Linked DNA regions of Homo sapiens: region 1 is linked to region 2. The links are contacts of gene promoters, found by promoter capture Hi-C in blood cells and fetal thymus (Javierre and others, 2016). All regions are on one chromosome and are shown on one strand. The core of a region is centred on a gene start or on the middle of the fragment in contact, and the rest is flanking DNA. Distances in the headings are between cores, read along the strand shown.

Region 1 (3,288 bases), core at 451-2,950, 410 kb before region 2:
GGTCCAATCCTTGAGTTGCAGGATGAGAGGAATACAATATATTCTCTAGTGCCCCACCCTTATTTCAGGATCCGGACTTTAGGAGCCTGGAAGCGGGAACCAGTCTTAGTTCAGCACTCCTGTCTTCCCAGCCCCCATCCTGAATGGGAGGTGGCCTCCAGCTGCACACGCTTCTTCCAGGCACACCTCAATTTGCCCCTCTGAATAGGGCAAGAGAAGCGGGGGCTGAGTCAAAACTGGCGGTGAGCAGTGTCCTGCATCCTTCCAGCCATGGCCTTGAAGCCGGGGTTCTGGCCTGGACACGTGCCACTCTCCAGGCCAATAGTCTCACCACCCCTCCCGCCAGCGCTCAGAGGCGGGGCTGGCCGCAGCGCGAGGAATGCGGGCTGGGGGCCCGGGGCACATTCCAGGGAAGACCCCAGGCCCAAGGGGCAAGTTTACGCAACTCGCCGCCCAGCTGAGGCTGGGAGCAGGGGAGGGCACCCACCCCGACTCTCTCTCCTCTTCTCCAGCACTGGAGGCGGCCGGGCTGGTGGGGAGCTTGTGGAGGTGGTAGTGCGCCTCCCAGAGTCCTGGCCCGGAAACAGCGCGCCGGAAAGGGCTGCCTGCGGGGGGCTGACGGCGGCGAGAGGGAGGGGAGAGGAGGTAGGCTGGCCATCTGGAAAAGGGCCTCTTTCCGCACTGTGCACAAGTCCGCTTCGGGGCGGCAGCAAAGTAGGGCAGGCCGGCTGTTTAAAATTAGTCCGGCCCTCCCTCTCACTTTCAGGCGCGGGCCGATGGGCGGCGAGTGTCCGGGGGTGGGGGCGGGAGCGGTGACTCAAAGGGCTTTTACACCCGTGCAGCCTCCTGCGCTCTGCGGATCCCGGGCCAGACCGCTTCGCGGGGACTCCCCTCACCCCGTGAAGTCTCTCCTCGGCCGGCACTCCCATACTCCCATTGACCTACAGGGTCAAGCCCCAATCCAGCTTCCTGACACCGCAGGAAACCTCTGCCACCTCTAGTAGTCCGCCTCGGGCCCGCCCCTCCTCGTGGTCCCGCCCCCACCTCACCTGAAGCAGGTGGAAGCTGGTCCCTCCCCAGCTCCGCCTCCAGGGTCCGCTACAGCCCAAGCGGCTACCGTCACTCTGACCAGGGAAGCCACCCTGGCAGACCGACGGCGAGTGGAACTCGAGCACCTCCCCAGGTGCGCCTAATTCGAAGGGCAGTCAGAATGGCGGAGCCAAGTTCCTGGCACCCCTCTTCAGTTTCCCCTCAACTTGAGAGGGGACTCCCCCGCAGGCGGGGCAGAGTGGACCCTGGGACCCCAGCCCAAGACTTTTCCGGAGAAGAACACTCGCTCCAGCCTCTTCCCGCGGAGCACCTCCCACCAGTTTTCATGGCGCCCACCCTGAACCCCCGATCGCCCCAACCTTTCTCCGGCCTCCCTCACCTTGAGCGGCGCTCCCAGCAGGCGGTGCACCGCGGGTATCTGCGCGCCCAAGGGCAGCGCCCCGTCCAGGCTGCAGGTGGGGGCCCGGCGCGGCTCCGGAAAGTTGGCACATGCGAAGGGGTCGGTGTCTTCCAGGTACTGCACCCTCACGGTCACCACTGATACCGGCTCTCCGTCCCCGCGGTCTTCCCCGCCCGCCATGGCTCTGCGGCCGGCTCACGCAGCGCGCCTCCGAGTCCCGGCCCCAGTGCAGCTTCTACTCAAAGCACACTGTAGCTCCGCGGTTCGGGCCCGGCCGGACCGGACGCGGCTGGAGGGGCGGGGCCAGACGGAGGCGGGGCCGAGGAAGGGGGTGGAGCCAAGATTAGTCCCCGAGTGCGCGCCAGGAGGTAACCACTGCCGGAGGCGGGGCCGCCGCTAGCCACTCACAGGGCCCAATGGGAATCCCGTTAGTTCACTGGCTAGGAGGGCGGGAAAAACCGAGCTCGCGCCCCACCTTCGAGAACGCGCAGAAGGCGGGGAGGCTTTCTTTGGTCTGGGGATAGTGAGGCTGCGTTCTCTTTGAGGGGTGTTAGGGCAGATGGGGCAGAAGTTTCTTTAGATAGTGGCCGGCCAGGTCTCTCTCAGTTGAGGGACAAGATAGCCCTCATTCCTTCCATTTGAGGGGTGAGTCCCTGTGGTTTCCTCATTTAGGGAAAGCAGTGAGAGGGGGTCCCTTCAATTTGGAGCAAGAAGTGAGAATAAATTCCACCCAGTTTGAAGGAAGAGGTGGGATCAGTTCCCTTTAGTTGTGGGAGGAAGAGGGAAGGATGCCCTTCAGTTTTCTGGGAAAAGATTGGGAGGAGTCAGTTTGAGGGGGCAGATAGAACACGTTCCCCTCAGTTTTGGAGAAAAAGTGGGATGGGTGCCCCTCAGCCTGAATGAAAAGTGGAGACGGTCCTCCTCTGTTTGGGGCGCTATGAGCCGAATGCCCCTCAGATTTGGAAAAAGTTGGGTGCATCTCGCCTAGTTTGAAGGGAATCAGTAGGCTGGGTTTTCCATAGGTTCCTGTCAGCTTCATCAAAGAGATGAGACAGTTCTCTGTAGTGTGACTGAAAGGGAGGGCCAGGTGCCCCTTGGTTTGGGAGATGAAGAACAGCCTCCCTCTTCGCCTGGCACGAGCTGGGCCAGTCTGGGCCTTAGGGTTTCTGGGACGTTGGGGGCAGCGTTGTCCGTCACTGCTTTGGGGAGCGTCCAGTGCGCGTGCGCAGCTCAGGTCCGGGTGGGGGCCGGCAGGGGGTCCTGGGCTTGGCAACGTGGGCGGAGGGCGGCCAAGCACGGTCCCCTGCGTTTTGCACCCGGCCGCGCCTTGGTCCCAGGGGGGTGCTGCTCGCCGCACAGCAGCGCTGGCCGAGGAGGAGCCGTGCCCCTCCCGTCCTGACCGCGCCCCCCGCAGACCCCCGCCCTTCCCGCTGCGGGCTGCCCCAGGGGGGCCGTGGCCGCGCACCGCTCTGGATCTGGTGGGGGCGGTTTTGGGGAGGTTTGGGGGCGCGGACTCGAAGGAGTAGGTTGTGGAACTTGGGGGAGAGCTGCACTGGGGAATTTCCGGAGCTGGGACTGATTTAGGGAGGAAAGAGGAGAGAGTCCCCGACTACGAGAGTCCGAGGCAGGGTCTCGGAGCCTGGACCTGGCTTGGGGGTATCGGAGCCGGGATTGGGGGGAGCGGGCCCCACGTGCCTGTGACGCGGGGGCGCCCGGTAGGTGGCGGCGGCGACGCGGGGCCGGCGGCCGTGCGGTGCCGGGAGGGCGGCTGGGCAGGCGGCAGGATGCTGCGCGCCGCCCTGTCCCTGCTCGCGCTGCCCCTGGCGGGGGCGGCCGAA
Region 2 (3,304 bases), core at 79-2,578:
GCCTTGCATCGTGAGGCAGCCCAGTGGGTGACAGGGGGTGCTGTGCAAGGGCCCTCCAGTGTCAGGCAGCTTTCAGCCAGGCACACGAGTGCCCCCTGATGCTCCTGGTCCTCCCGCATTTCATCCAGAAGCTGGGACAGTGATAGGCCTGGGGACAGGGGACCATGGGATGAGTCAAGGCTTAAAGGGGAGGACCAGGAGGGTGAGGGGGAAGACAGCTTATTGAGGAAGCATAAGGTTAAGGCTGGAGAGATCACTGCACAGCGTGTTAGGATCACTGGTCAAGCTCTACAGTACCTGCATTGGACGAGGTGGACTCTGAAAGGTGCTCCCTACAGGAAGAGAGTGGCCAGGACTCAGGAACCATGCTGAGGCCTGTCTACCTAGATACACCATCCCCTCACCAAACAACACGTGGCCCCCGAGCCCAACCCCAGACTCACTCAAGGCAGTCATAGAGCTTTTTCTGAACATCTAAGTCTTGGTTGCTAAGAAAAAGAGAAGGGTAGTTAATGGGGGCCCAAGCCCTCCTACCCCATAGGCGTCTGCCAGCGCCGGCCAGGCTGGGGTGGGGAGAGCTGCTGGAGGGCGGAGGCATCACTTACCAACCAGGCACCCGTAGCCGGGGCTGCTCCGTGGGCAGCAGGCTGAAGCGGTCCACCTGGAGATAGAACTCTGCGGGCTGGAGGAGTTCGGGGGGAAGGGGGGGTCTCAGAATCGTCACGAAGAGTCATGCCCGGTAACCCGCCCAAGGCAGTCTCACCACTCACCGCGCCGCCCTCAGCGACCTGGACATGAACCCCGCAGTCCTGCAGCAGCAGCAGCCGGCCCTCTGTCCCGCGGAAGCCGAACTCCTTCTCCTCCCTGCAACAAGCAGGATCCTCACTGCCGGGCCCACCTGAACACAAGGCCCGCCCACCTCGCGCTCTCCTGCCGGACTCCGACCTCCAGAGCCGCGCGGGGCCTCTCACCAGTCCGAGGTGTCCAGGGCCTCCCGCGTCACCAGGCATCGGACACTGTGGGTCCCGTCAGACACAAGCAGCGTGGCCCCGACGTCGGACGTATCAGGGGCGTGGGATGGGCCCGCGACCGCGGCCTCGGCGTCCTGTAGTACCTGACGGCGGCGAGCGGCGTCAATCCCACCACCCCGGGCCTCCGCCTCGGTCTCCGGGCCCTGAATGGGGGCTCACCTCAAGCAGCTGCCCGGCTCGTGGACTGGAGGGTGTCTCTGACCCCAGAATCAGCTCCCGAATCCAGGGCCGTAGGACCAGCCTCCCCGAACCTGCCATCCCCACGGCTACACCCAGCGGATGCAACGGGCCCGGGTTTCCCGCGGGCGCCCAGGCCCCGCCTTTCCTCGGAAGAGGAAGCTCCTTCGCTGGGCGGGGCCGGAGGAGGAGGCCCCGCCCACGTACACCCCGCGCCTGCGCACGAGGGCGTCCTGCTCGGGGGCCTGTGTGCAGACTCCCGCTGGTCCACCCCGCTGGTGCACGGGATGCTGGCCCGTTTACTCTCATCGCGGCGTCACTCTGACAGCGGCCAGGCATTTGGGCCGTTCGTCAAGATTCCTGTGGTACCGGTAGGGAACAGAACAAGGGCTGGTCCCGTCCCTGGAGAGGGTTCCAGGGCCGGAGGCTGAGGCCGAGTGCCGTCCGAGCGAGTTGACTCGAAACCATTTCAGCACCGTGTGACCCCCGAACGGTTCAGCACATATTTATTATGACTCAGTTTCCTCATCTACACAGTGCACGGTCTTGTAAGGCCAGTGGAAATAAGAGCACACACACAGCGCTAAATAAATGGTACTTCCTTCGCCCTCCCCTCGGATTGGCGGAGCCCTGCTCCCCAGACTCCGGGGGCGCGCGGACCTCAGCGTGATGACGCAAGAGCGGAGGACGGCTCCTCTCCATCCACGGCTCCGTTTCCTAGGAAACGTGGACTCCGCGTTCCACTCTGCGTCGCTGCCCCCTTGACGTCACGCTCCGGATGGGAAGGCGGGGCGTGTGCTACCGCCAGGGGCGGGGCGGCGCGGGCGGGCCGGCCGGGCTGTGCACCTGCGCCTCGGCGGGCCGCCTGGGGCACCGTCCCCGGCCCGCCCGGCCCCGCCATGGCCCGGCCGCAGAGGACTCCGGCGCGCAGTCCCGATAGCATCGTCGAGGTGAAGAGCAAAGTAAGGGCTCCTCCGGCCTCGGCCCTAGGCGCTCCCAATTCCCTCTTTCTCCCCTTCCCAGCTCCTTGGTCCCCGCCACCTCTTCCCTCTATCCTCCAAGTCCCATTCTGCTTTTCTGCTCGCCTTCCCCCATCCGTCTTCCTTCCTCCACTGCTGGTCTCCAGCTCTCTGTGGCCTGAGTACCTGGAGGGCGGTAAGAAGACCTTGGACAGCGTCCCTGGTACTGGAGCTGAGGTCTGGGCTTAAGGCTGCCGCAAAAGCGGCAGCCGCATCTTTCCCATTCCTGCCAGCCTGCGGTGAGAAAGGGGCGCAGGCTGTCCTGACTCCTCCTCTCCCCCAACCCCGACTTCCAGTTTGACGCCGAGTTCCGACGCTTCGCGCTGCCTCGCGCTTCGGTGAGCGGCTTCCAGGAGTTCTCGCGGTTGCTGCGGGCGGTGCACCAGATCCCGGGCCTGGACGTGCTACTTGGCTATACGGATGCTCATGGCGACCTGCTGCCCCTCACCAACGACGACAGCCTGCACCGGGCCCTGGCCAGCGGGCCCCCGCCACTGCGCCTACTGGTGCAGAAGCGGGGTGAGGAGGGGTACAGTGGGCAGCCTCTGTGGGGTAAGGTGTCTGTGGGGCAGGTCTACAAGGGTTAGTCCATGCCCAGGGTACCCAAGCGTCACCCTCTGCAGTCCCTGCCCTTGGCTTGACCTCTAAGTGGTAGGAAATAGCTACAGTGCCCCCTGTAAACAGCCCAAGTCGGGGAGCAGGTCTCTGATCTCAACATCCCCCCTCTTCTGCAGCAGAAGCTGACTCCAGCGGCCTGGCTTTTGCCTCCAACTCTCTGCAGCGGCGCAAGAAAGGGCTCTTGCTGCGGCCAGTGGCACCCCTGCGCACCCGGCCACCCTTGCTAATCAGCCTGCCCCAAGATTTCCGCCAGGTTTCCTCAGTCATAGACGTGGACCTACTGCCTGAGACCCACCGACGGGTGCGGCTGCACAAGCATGGTTCAGACCGCCCCCTGGGCTTCTACATCCGAGATGGCATGAGCGTGCGTGTGGCTCCCCAGGGCCTGGAGCGGGTTCCAGGAATCTTCATCTCCCGCCTGGTACGTGGGGGTCTGGCTGAGAGTACAGGGCTGCTGGC

The links. Contacts are between HindIII fragments. The CHiCAGO score rates a contact against its expected background, and 5 or more counts as called.
Region 1: a contact is called between the fragment with the promoter of FHOD1 here and the fragment with the promoter of ACD in region 2, in 7 of 17 cell types (neutrophils, erythroblasts, naive CD8 T cells and 4 more). The highest score is 8.5, in neutrophils.

Annotation. Positions count from the first base shown.
Region 1 is chr16:67,245,781-67,249,068 of GRCh38, forward strand. It overlaps FHOD1 (formin homology 2 domain containing 1), which reads right to left and starts at 1,701. Exons shown (of 22, transcript NM_013241.3): 1 at 1,430-1,701. The coding sequence starts at 1,630. It overlaps SLC9A5 (solute carrier family 9 member A5), which reads left to right and starts at 3,199. Exons shown (of 16, transcript NM_004594.3): 1 at 3,199-3,288. The coding sequence starts at 3,235. RefSeq lists enhancers at 1-535, 2,936-3,288 and silencers at 639-738, 1,639-2,008, 2,651-2,740, 2,761-2,850, 3,151-3,260. The HindIII fragment of the contact is 13,502 bases long and covers 1-3,288 here.
Region 2 is chr16:67,658,932-67,662,235 of GRCh38, forward strand. It overlaps ACD (ACD shelterin complex subunit and telomerase recruitment factor), which reads right to left and starts at 1,329. Exons shown (of 12, transcript NM_001082486.2): 1 at 1,191-1,329; 2 at 972-1,114; 3 at 771-864; 4 at 606-682; 5 at 444-488; 6 at 298-332; 7 at 1-148. The coding sequence starts at 1,289. PARD6A (par-6 family cell polarity regulator alpha) reads left to right here and starts at 2,029. Exons shown (of 3, transcript NM_001037281.2): 1 at 2,029-2,170; 2 at 2,524-2,746; 3 at 2,965-3,304. The coding sequence starts at 2,108. RefSeq lists an enhancer at 659-1,242 and silencers at 1,396-1,505, 1,816-2,295. The HindIII fragment of the contact is 13,736 bases long and covers 1-3,304 here.